2 separate regions of the Homo sapiens genome follow, and region 1 is linked to region 2. Evidence: promoter capture Hi-C in human tissues and cell types (Jung and others, 2019). All regions are on one chromosome and are shown on one strand. The core of a region is centred on a gene start or on the middle of the fragment in contact, and the rest is flanking DNA. Distances in the headings are between cores, read along the strand shown. Region 1 overlaps GFOD2 (Gfo/Idh/MocA-like oxidoreductase domain containing 2). Region 2 holds the start of ACD (ACD shelterin complex subunit and telomerase recruitment factor).

Region 1 (5,114 bases), core at 922-3,421, 37 kb after region 2:
TCTGCTTTTACAGGTGTCTTGGTTATTTACAGGTTATGGCTGTTATAGGAGCTTGACAGTGTCAAGCATGCAGCATTAGGTAAGTAGTGAGATTCTACTTAAGTTTTTTTTTTTTTTTTTTGAGACGGAGTCTCATTTCTGTCACCCAGGCTGGAGTGCTGTGGCATGATCTTGGCCCACTGCAACCTCAGCCTCCTGGGTTCAAGCGGTTCTCCTGTCTCAGCCTCCCGAGTAGCTGGGATTACAGGCATGCGCCACCATACCTGGCTAATTTTTGTATTTTTAGTAGAGACAGGGTTTCACTATATTGGCCAGGCTGGTCTCGAACTCCTGACCTCAGGTGATCCTCCTGCCTCGGCCTCCCAAAGTGCTAAGATTACAGGCATAAGCCACTGTGCCCAGCCAAATTTTGTTGGTCATTAATTACTAATTGTTACAGGGCTAAGGGAGTGAGACACAGTCCATGTCTTCTCTAAATTCATGCCCAGGGCACACCTCCTCCACTCTCACACCGTGTTCCTTCTCACCCTAGTTGTATTTGGGTATATATAGGGAATGTATGTATCCACTACATAGGGAACCCTTTTTTTTTTTTTGAGATCGAGTTTCGCTCTTTTTGCCCAGGCTGGAGTGGTGCAATGGCACGATCTCGGCTCACTGCAACCTCCACCTCCCAGGTTCAAGCGATTCTCCTGCCTCAGCCTTCCAAGTAGCTGCGATTACAGGAGCCCGCCACCATGCCTGGCTAATTTTTTGTATTTTTAGTAGAGACGGGGTTTCACCATGTTGGACAGGATGGTCCCGATCTCTTGACCTCGTGATCTGCCCGCCTCAGCCTCCCAAAGTGTTAGGATTACAGGCGTGAGCCACCGCGCCCGGCCGGGAATCTTTTTTTTTTTTTTAAATGATCTATTACGTATCTATGACCAACTTAGATGTCTCCTCTTCAAAAGCTGTGTAGGAATATGAGGATGATAATTTTGAGCCAATATGAAGTGAAAAATATATATAAGTATCGGTAGCTTAAAACAACAGAATGGACTAGAATTTTTTTTCTTTTTTGAGACAGTCTCGCTCCGTCACCCAGGCTGGAGTGCAGTGGCGCGCTCTTGGCTCACTGCAAGCTCTGCCTCCTGGATTCACGCCATTCTCCTGCCTCAGCCTCCCGAGTAGCTGGGACTACAGGCACCCACCACCACACCCGGCTAATTTTTTGTATTTTCAGTAGAGACGGGGTTTCACCATGTTAGCCAGGATGGTCTGGATCTCCTGACCTCGTGATCCGCCTGCCTCAGCCTCCCAAAGTGCCGGGATTATAGGCGTGAGCCACTGCGCCCGGCCGAAAAATTTTTAATAACCTGTTTTACTGCCACTGACTCAAAGGGAAGCTTCATCAACTCCCATAAAGGGGTATTGGCTGGCCCCCGAGGAAGCCAGATGGCATGAAGGCAGGCAGGCTTGCTGACTAGGTATTTCCTGCCCAAGCAGGCAGAGCTGGTTTTCCTTGTTAATTTCAGTGGCTACCCTTTCTCACCCCTAAAATTTCCCCACTCTTTGTCTTTAACATCCTTGCACATATCCTTCAGATGCCTCCAAAGATCTCCACAAACCCAGTCCTGCCAAGACCACATACATTTCCCATCACCACATGCTGGTCAGGAATGAAGTGTGCCTTGGCAGGACAGGCTATATACAATTTGACAAGGCCTTGCCTGGGTTCAAATCCTGGCTCTGTCACTTTCCAGCTGGGTGACCTCAGGTAAGTCCTTTAGTCACTCTGTATCTCCATTTCCTCATCTGTAAAATGGGGAAATTTTATCTACCTCACAGGGGATTTAAGGATTGAGTTAATATTTGTAGAATACTTATAATTGGGCCTGGCCAATTAGATATGAGTCAGTACATAGGGAATCTTTTTCTGAAAAAAAGATATCTGTTAACTATCTGTGACTGACTTAGATGTCTCTTCTTCAAAAGTTGAGTAGAAATATGAGGGTCATAATTCTGAGCTAATATGAAGTGAGTATAATAGGGCAGCCAGTGTTTAGTCTGTCCCTTGTTCCATGCAACCCTGTTGTACAGATAAGAAAACATGCTCAAAGAGGTGAGGTAACTCTCCCAGGGTTCCACGCCTGGCTGTGTGCATGACCTGCTACAACCAGCATGAAACCTTGAGCAGGTTACTTCACTTCTCTGAGCCTCTATAAAAACAAGAAAGAAAAAGAGTCATTTTGTAACATGTGCATGTGTGGAGCAACTCTTCTTCCATCCTTCCTCATGAGTGTGAGCCAGGCAAGTTCCTTCCACTGTCTGCTCTGGGGGTGACTGTTTGCCTCTGATCCACTGTTCAAAACCAATACTAATCTGGTCAATGTCTCACCTTTTCTGAGGAGCTAACGAGGGAGCTGTGGGACATAAAAAGATGAAAAGTCCTAATTTCAGGGGTGACAAGTCAGCAAGGTGAGTAGGAGCCAGAACTGGTGGCGTAAAGTGTTAATCTCAAGAGTTTGGACTTTGACAGGTGGGTGTGCTCAGTATTCTTGGTCTGCTCCTCCTTCCCTACCTGATCCTCTCTGCCCTGCTTTTTGTCTCTGGAGTCAGAAGGTCAGTCTCTAAAGCCCTGGGCTCCAGGTCCTCTGGCTTCCATCTGAGTCCAGCCAAGGGAAAGAACCAGGAAGAGATCAGCGAGCAGGAGGAAAGGCCAAGGTGTTTATTTTTTGCCTTCTCTCCCTCCCAGGATATGGTTCTGGCAGAGCTGTGTTCCTTAACCAAGGTCACAGCTCCTTTAGAGGACCCCTCTCTCCCATGGCCATTGCTTTTGCTGGGTTCCAGTGACACATCCCCACTCCGTCATTGCACCTAGGGTGGGGACACTACCTTGCCAGTCCCTGGGTGCTCCACTATCCCTTGTATGTTTCCTTTACTACTCACACTATTGTGAATAATCCCTTCATTAAAGAGTTTTTAATTAACCCTTTGAGTACACTGACTGTTTCCTGTCTAGACCTTGACTAATGCAGGTAAGCAATAAGAACCATTGGATTTTTTTTCTTTTTCTTTTTCTTTGAGATGGAGTCTTGCTCTGTCACCCAGGCTGGAGTGCAGTGGCGTGATCTTGGCTCATTGCAACCTCTGCTTCCAGGTTCAAGCAAGTCTCCTGCCTCAGCTTCCCGAGCAGCTGGGATTACAGGTGTGCGCCACCATGCCCAGCTAATTTTTGCATTTTTAGTAGACACGGGGTTTCCCCATATTGGCCAGGCTGGTCTCGAACTCCTGACCTCTGGTGATCTGCCCACCTCGGCCTCCCGAAGTGTTGGGATTACAGGCGTGAGCCACTGTGCCCGGCCTGCATTTTTTTTCTTTAATTTGGCAGAAAGACGTAGGTAGGATAGAGTTTAGGAGACATTAGACACAGAGAACCAGTTAGGATATCAAGTAAGACATAAGGAGGGTCTAATGGAGGGAATGAAATGGAGCAGACAGTTATCACTAGGATTTGGGATTATCAGCAGGGTGGGAGAGCCAAAAAAATAAAATAAAATAAATAACTGAACTATAGACCAATACGTCTCATAAACTTAGGCACAAAAATCCTCAACAAAATATTAGCAAATTAAATCTAGCAATGTGGCTGGGCGTGGTGGCTCACACCTGTAATCCCAGCACTTTGGGAGGCCAAGGCGGGCGGATCATGAGGTTAGGAGATTGAGACCATCCTGGCTGACATGGTGAAACCCCGTCTCTACTAAAAATACAAAAAATTAGCCAGACGTGATGGTGGGTACCTGTAGTCCCAGCTACCCAGGAGGCTGAGGCAGCAGAATCGCTGGAACCAAAGAGGCAGAGGCTGCAGTGAGCTGAGATCGCACCACTGGCACTCCAGCCTGGGCAACAGAGCAAGACTTCATCTCTAAAAAACAAAACAAAACAAAAATAAATAAAAATTAAAAAAAAAATACACCATGACCAACAGGGGTTTAATCCCAGGAATGCAAGGCTGGCTCAACATTCTAAAATCAACTACTATTGGATAGGAGAATGTGGTGTTTTTTTGTTTGTTAGTTTGGTTTGAGACAGAGTCTCACTCTGTCACCCAGACTGGAATGCAGTGGCGCAATCTCGGCTTACTGCAACCTCCGCCTCCTGGGTTCAGGTGATTCTCGTGCCTCAGCCACCCGAGCAGCTGGGACCACAGATGTGTACCACCACGCCTGGCTAATTTTTGTACATTTTGTAGAGAAGGGGTTTTGCCATGTTGGCCAGGCTGGTCTCAAACTCCTGGCCTCAAGCGATCCACCAGCCTCAGCCTCCCAAAGTGCTGGGGTAACAGGAGCAAGCCACCGCGCCCAGCCTGGATAGCAAAATGTTTAACTGAAAAAGAAAAAAAAAAAAGGCCAGGTGCAGTGGCTCACCTGTAATCCCAGAATTTTGGGAGGCCAGGAGTTCAAGACCAGCCTGGTGAACATGGTGAAACCCTGTCTCTACAAAAAACAAACAAAAAAAGCCAGGTGCAGTGGCACACACCTGTGGCTACTCAGGAGGCTCAGGAGGGAGGAACACTTGAGCCTGGGAGGTGGAGGTTGCAGTGAGCCATTTTTGCACCACTACACTTCAGCCTGGGCAACAAGAGCATGACCCTGCCTCAAAAAAATAAAAACTAGGCCAGGCGCGGTGGCTCACGCCTATAATCCCAGCACTTTGGGAGGCCAAGGTGGGCAGATTGCCTGAGCTCAGGAGTTTGCGACCAGCCTGGGCAACAAGGTAAAACCCCATCTCTACTAAAATACAAAAAAATTAGCCGGTCATGACAGTATGTGCCTGTAGTCTCAGCTACTTAGGAGGCTGAGGCAGGAGAACTGCTTGAACCCGGGAAGCAGAGGTTGCAGTGAGCTGAGATCGTGCCACTGCACTCCAGCCTGGGCAACACAGTGAGACTCCGTCTCAAAAAAAAAAAATTAAATTTAATTTAAAAAATAAAATCAATTACTATAACTTACCGTATCAGTAGTCATTAGACAGCATTAATTAGAAATACAAATTAAGGCCGGGCACGGTGGCTCACCTGAGGTCAGGAGTTTGAGACCAGCCTGGCCAACATGGTGAAACCCTGCCTC
Region 2 (5,035 bases), core at 198-2,697:
CTCCCTGTGGGACATGAACTCTGTAGGACAGGCCCGTTTACTCTCATGTCCTGTGGGATATGACCCTTGCCCAACTCCTCACCCTGACATCTCCCAAGCAAATCCCCAGACTGACCGTGGCCTTGCATCGTGAGGCAGCCCAGTGGGTGACAGGGGGTGCTGTGCAAGGGCCCTCCAGTGTCAGGCAGCTTTCAGCCAGGCACACGAGTGCCCCCTGATGCTCCTGGTCCTCCCGCATTTCATCCAGAAGCTGGGACAGTGATAGGCCTGGGGACAGGGGACCATGGGATGAGTCAAGGCTTAAAGGGGAGGACCAGGAGGGTGAGGGGGAAGACAGCTTATTGAGGAAGCATAAGGTTAAGGCTGGAGAGATCACTGCACAGCGTGTTAGGATCACTGGTCAAGCTCTACAGTACCTGCATTGGACGAGGTGGACTCTGAAAGGTGCTCCCTACAGGAAGAGAGTGGCCAGGACTCAGGAACCATGCTGAGGCCTGTCTACCTAGATACACCATCCCCTCACCAAACAACACGTGGCCCCCGAGCCCAACCCCAGACTCACTCAAGGCAGTCATAGAGCTTTTTCTGAACATCTAAGTCTTGGTTGCTAAGAAAAAGAGAAGGGTAGTTAATGGGGGCCCAAGCCCTCCTACCCCATAGGCGTCTGCCAGCGCCGGCCAGGCTGGGGTGGGGAGAGCTGCTGGAGGGCGGAGGCATCACTTACCAACCAGGCACCCGTAGCCGGGGCTGCTCCGTGGGCAGCAGGCTGAAGCGGTCCACCTGGAGATAGAACTCTGCGGGCTGGAGGAGTTCGGGGGGAAGGGGGGGTCTCAGAATCGTCACGAAGAGTCATGCCCGGTAACCCGCCCAAGGCAGTCTCACCACTCACCGCGCCGCCCTCAGCGACCTGGACATGAACCCCGCAGTCCTGCAGCAGCAGCAGCCGGCCCTCTGTCCCGCGGAAGCCGAACTCCTTCTCCTCCCTGCAACAAGCAGGATCCTCACTGCCGGGCCCACCTGAACACAAGGCCCGCCCACCTCGCGCTCTCCTGCCGGACTCCGACCTCCAGAGCCGCGCGGGGCCTCTCACCAGTCCGAGGTGTCCAGGGCCTCCCGCGTCACCAGGCATCGGACACTGTGGGTCCCGTCAGACACAAGCAGCGTGGCCCCGACGTCGGACGTATCAGGGGCGTGGGATGGGCCCGCGACCGCGGCCTCGGCGTCCTGTAGTACCTGACGGCGGCGAGCGGCGTCAATCCCACCACCCCGGGCCTCCGCCTCGGTCTCCGGGCCCTGAATGGGGGCTCACCTCAAGCAGCTGCCCGGCTCGTGGACTGGAGGGTGTCTCTGACCCCAGAATCAGCTCCCGAATCCAGGGCCGTAGGACCAGCCTCCCCGAACCTGCCATCCCCACGGCTACACCCAGCGGATGCAACGGGCCCGGGTTTCCCGCGGGCGCCCAGGCCCCGCCTTTCCTCGGAAGAGGAAGCTCCTTCGCTGGGCGGGGCCGGAGGAGGAGGCCCCGCCCACGTACACCCCGCGCCTGCGCACGAGGGCGTCCTGCTCGGGGGCCTGTGTGCAGACTCCCGCTGGTCCACCCCGCTGGTGCACGGGATGCTGGCCCGTTTACTCTCATCGCGGCGTCACTCTGACAGCGGCCAGGCATTTGGGCCGTTCGTCAAGATTCCTGTGGTACCGGTAGGGAACAGAACAAGGGCTGGTCCCGTCCCTGGAGAGGGTTCCAGGGCCGGAGGCTGAGGCCGAGTGCCGTCCGAGCGAGTTGACTCGAAACCATTTCAGCACCGTGTGACCCCCGAACGGTTCAGCACATATTTATTATGACTCAGTTTCCTCATCTACACAGTGCACGGTCTTGTAAGGCCAGTGGAAATAAGAGCACACACACAGCGCTAAATAAATGGTACTTCCTTCGCCCTCCCCTCGGATTGGCGGAGCCCTGCTCCCCAGACTCCGGGGGCGCGCGGACCTCAGCGTGATGACGCAAGAGCGGAGGACGGCTCCTCTCCATCCACGGCTCCGTTTCCTAGGAAACGTGGACTCCGCGTTCCACTCTGCGTCGCTGCCCCCTTGACGTCACGCTCCGGATGGGAAGGCGGGGCGTGTGCTACCGCCAGGGGCGGGGCGGCGCGGGCGGGCCGGCCGGGCTGTGCACCTGCGCCTCGGCGGGCCGCCTGGGGCACCGTCCCCGGCCCGCCCGGCCCCGCCATGGCCCGGCCGCAGAGGACTCCGGCGCGCAGTCCCGATAGCATCGTCGAGGTGAAGAGCAAAGTAAGGGCTCCTCCGGCCTCGGCCCTAGGCGCTCCCAATTCCCTCTTTCTCCCCTTCCCAGCTCCTTGGTCCCCGCCACCTCTTCCCTCTATCCTCCAAGTCCCATTCTGCTTTTCTGCTCGCCTTCCCCCATCCGTCTTCCTTCCTCCACTGCTGGTCTCCAGCTCTCTGTGGCCTGAGTACCTGGAGGGCGGTAAGAAGACCTTGGACAGCGTCCCTGGTACTGGAGCTGAGGTCTGGGCTTAAGGCTGCCGCAAAAGCGGCAGCCGCATCTTTCCCATTCCTGCCAGCCTGCGGTGAGAAAGGGGCGCAGGCTGTCCTGACTCCTCCTCTCCCCCAACCCCGACTTCCAGTTTGACGCCGAGTTCCGACGCTTCGCGCTGCCTCGCGCTTCGGTGAGCGGCTTCCAGGAGTTCTCGCGGTTGCTGCGGGCGGTGCACCAGATCCCGGGCCTGGACGTGCTACTTGGCTATACGGATGCTCATGGCGACCTGCTGCCCCTCACCAACGACGACAGCCTGCACCGGGCCCTGGCCAGCGGGCCCCCGCCACTGCGCCTACTGGTGCAGAAGCGGGGTGAGGAGGGGTACAGTGGGCAGCCTCTGTGGGGTAAGGTGTCTGTGGGGCAGGTCTACAAGGGTTAGTCCATGCCCAGGGTACCCAAGCGTCACCCTCTGCAGTCCCTGCCCTTGGCTTGACCTCTAAGTGGTAGGAAATAGCTACAGTGCCCCCTGTAAACAGCCCAAGTCGGGGAGCAGGTCTCTGATCTCAACATCCCCCCTCTTCTGCAGCAGAAGCTGACTCCAGCGGCCTGGCTTTTGCCTCCAACTCTCTGCAGCGGCGCAAGAAAGGGCTCTTGCTGCGGCCAGTGGCACCCCTGCGCACCCGGCCACCCTTGCTAATCAGCCTGCCCCAAGATTTCCGCCAGGTTTCCTCAGTCATAGACGTGGACCTACTGCCTGAGACCCACCGACGGGTGCGGCTGCACAAGCATGGTTCAGACCGCCCCCTGGGCTTCTACATCCGAGATGGCATGAGCGTGCGTGTGGCTCCCCAGGGCCTGGAGCGGGTTCCAGGAATCTTCATCTCCCGCCTGGTACGTGGGGGTCTGGCTGAGAGTACAGGGCTGCTGGCGGTCAGTGATGAGATCCTCGAGGTCAATGGCATTGAAGTAGCCGGGAAGACCTTGGACCAAGTGACGGACATGATGGTTGCCAACAGCCATAACCTCATTGTCACTGTCAAGCCCGCCAACCAGCGCAATAACGTGGTGCGAGGGGCATCTGGGCGTTTGACAGGTCCTCCCTCTGCAGGGCCTGGGCCTGCTGAGCCTGATAGTGACGATGACAGCAGTGACCTGGTCATTGAGAACCGCCAGCCTCCCAGTTCCAATGGGCTGTCTCAGGGGCCCCCGTGCTGGGACCTGCACCCTGGCTGCCGACATCCTGGTACCCGCAGCTCTCTGCCCTCCCTGGATGACCAGGAGCAGGCCAGTTCTGGCTGGGGGAGTCGCATTCGAGGAGATGGTAGTGGCTTCAGCCTCTGACAGTCAGGATGAAGCCCCATGCCACTCCACACTGCTGGGACATGGCAGGGACTTCACAGTGGGGGTTTTTAGCTGGCTCACAGGGCTCCCTCAGCCTGGGGAACATTAAAGGTTTTCTACAAATACAGTCATGGTCCTTGTGTGTCCCAGTTCCAGCCTCCTCCCTGGTCTCACCAGCTTGCCTTCTGCTCTGGACTAAGGCAGGAGTGACATTGGGGAGAACTTCCTGCAATCAAGCAGCAGGAGGGCCACCAGGCTTGGCATTTTTAGGGTAAGAAAAGCTCTTATGGAAACAAATCCTGTGTACAAAATGTTTAATTTTGACAAAGCAGTTAAAAGGCTAGGGTGGCCCTTCTGCAGCCACTGGTGACTGGGAAGAGTGCTCTAGGGACACTGGCCACCCCCCTGCTCCTGTCTTCAGACCTCTGCTCTGGGATTGGGTCCAACCCTGTCCTTTGCAGCCATGTGGCGATCCTCAGCATGGAGCTCCTTGCCACTGTCCCCCAAAGGGGCTCAGTCGTCCATCTTCACGAAGACTTTGGGCCGAGAAAAGATCTTGATGGCCTCCTCTACCTGCACCAGCTTCCGGTCCAGCTCAGCACGGTGGCTCTGGGCTCTCAGTGAGTCTGCCCCAGCAGGCAGCAGTACCAGCTCACGCAGCAGCTGGCTCTGGCCTACAGGGGGCCCGGGAACAGTGAGAACAGTGAGTGTTGGGCAGGGGTGCCCGGTCCCCAGTGGGGCCCCCCTCCAGCCTCCCTGCCCAGGTACTCACTCTGGAGCAGCTTGGTCAGTGTTTCCAGCCGCTGGTTCTCAGGCATGCGCGTGTGGCCTGGGGGCATGGCAGGGTCCGGCTGGCTCTGCTTGCGGGCCTCGGCCTCCCGCCGCCACAGGTCCCTGCGCTCCAACAAGCTGTGGGTACACAGGCTCAGAGTTGATGACCCGAGGGCAGAGGTTGGTTCCCACCCTCCACAGGTGTCCTTCACCCTGAGTGTCGGGCAGTGAGACCTACTAATGTGGCACATGGCCCTTCTGCGTGGCATTGTAGTGCTCCTGGGCCTGCCGCTGCTGCTCTAGCACTTGTGCCAGGACCTGCAGTGAGCAGGAATGCCTCCGGGGGGCTCTCTTGGCAGCTCGTGCATTGTGACGAATGAAGTCCACCCCCAGGCCTGGCTCCTGCAGGACACAGCAAGCGTGGGTGGG

The links. The method cuts DNA at HindIII sites, captures the fragments that hold promoters and counts their contacts. A contact is called where the count stands out against the background at its distance.
Region 1: a contact is called between a fragment that was not itself captured here and the fragment with the promoter of ACD in region 2, in 4 of the 25 tissues and cell types used here (mesendoderm cells, pancreas, small bowel and 1 more).

Annotation. Positions count from the first base shown.
Region 1 is chr16:67,695,432-67,700,545 of GRCh38, forward strand. All of the region lies in intron 1 of GFOD2 (Gfo/Idh/MocA-like oxidoreductase domain containing 2), which reads right to left. Among named protein-coding and RNA genes, the nearest start is that of GFOD2, 21 kb to the right of the region's middle. The HindIII fragment of the contact is 7,245 bases long and covers 1-5,114 here.
Region 2 is chr16:67,658,813-67,663,847 of GRCh38, forward strand. It overlaps ACD (ACD shelterin complex subunit and telomerase recruitment factor), which reads right to left and starts at 1,448. Exons shown (of 12, transcript NM_001082486.2): 1 at 1,310-1,448; 2 at 1,091-1,233; 3 at 890-983; 4 at 725-801; 5 at 563-607; 6 at 417-451; 7 at 116-267; 8 at 1-4. The coding sequence starts at 1,408. PARD6A (par-6 family cell polarity regulator alpha) reads left to right here and starts at 2,148. Exons shown (of 3, transcript NM_001037281.2): 1 at 2,148-2,289; 2 at 2,643-2,865; 3 at 3,084-3,962. The coding sequence starts at 2,227. The coding sequence ends at 3,835. ENKD1 (enkurin domain containing 1) reads right to left here. Exons shown (of 7, transcript NM_032140.3): 5 at 4,845-5,008; 6 at 4,608-4,744; 7 at 4,133-4,509. The coding sequence ends at 4,349. RefSeq lists an enhancer at 778-1,361 and silencers at 1,515-1,624, 1,935-2,414. The HindIII fragment of the contact is 13,160 bases long and covers 1-5,035 here.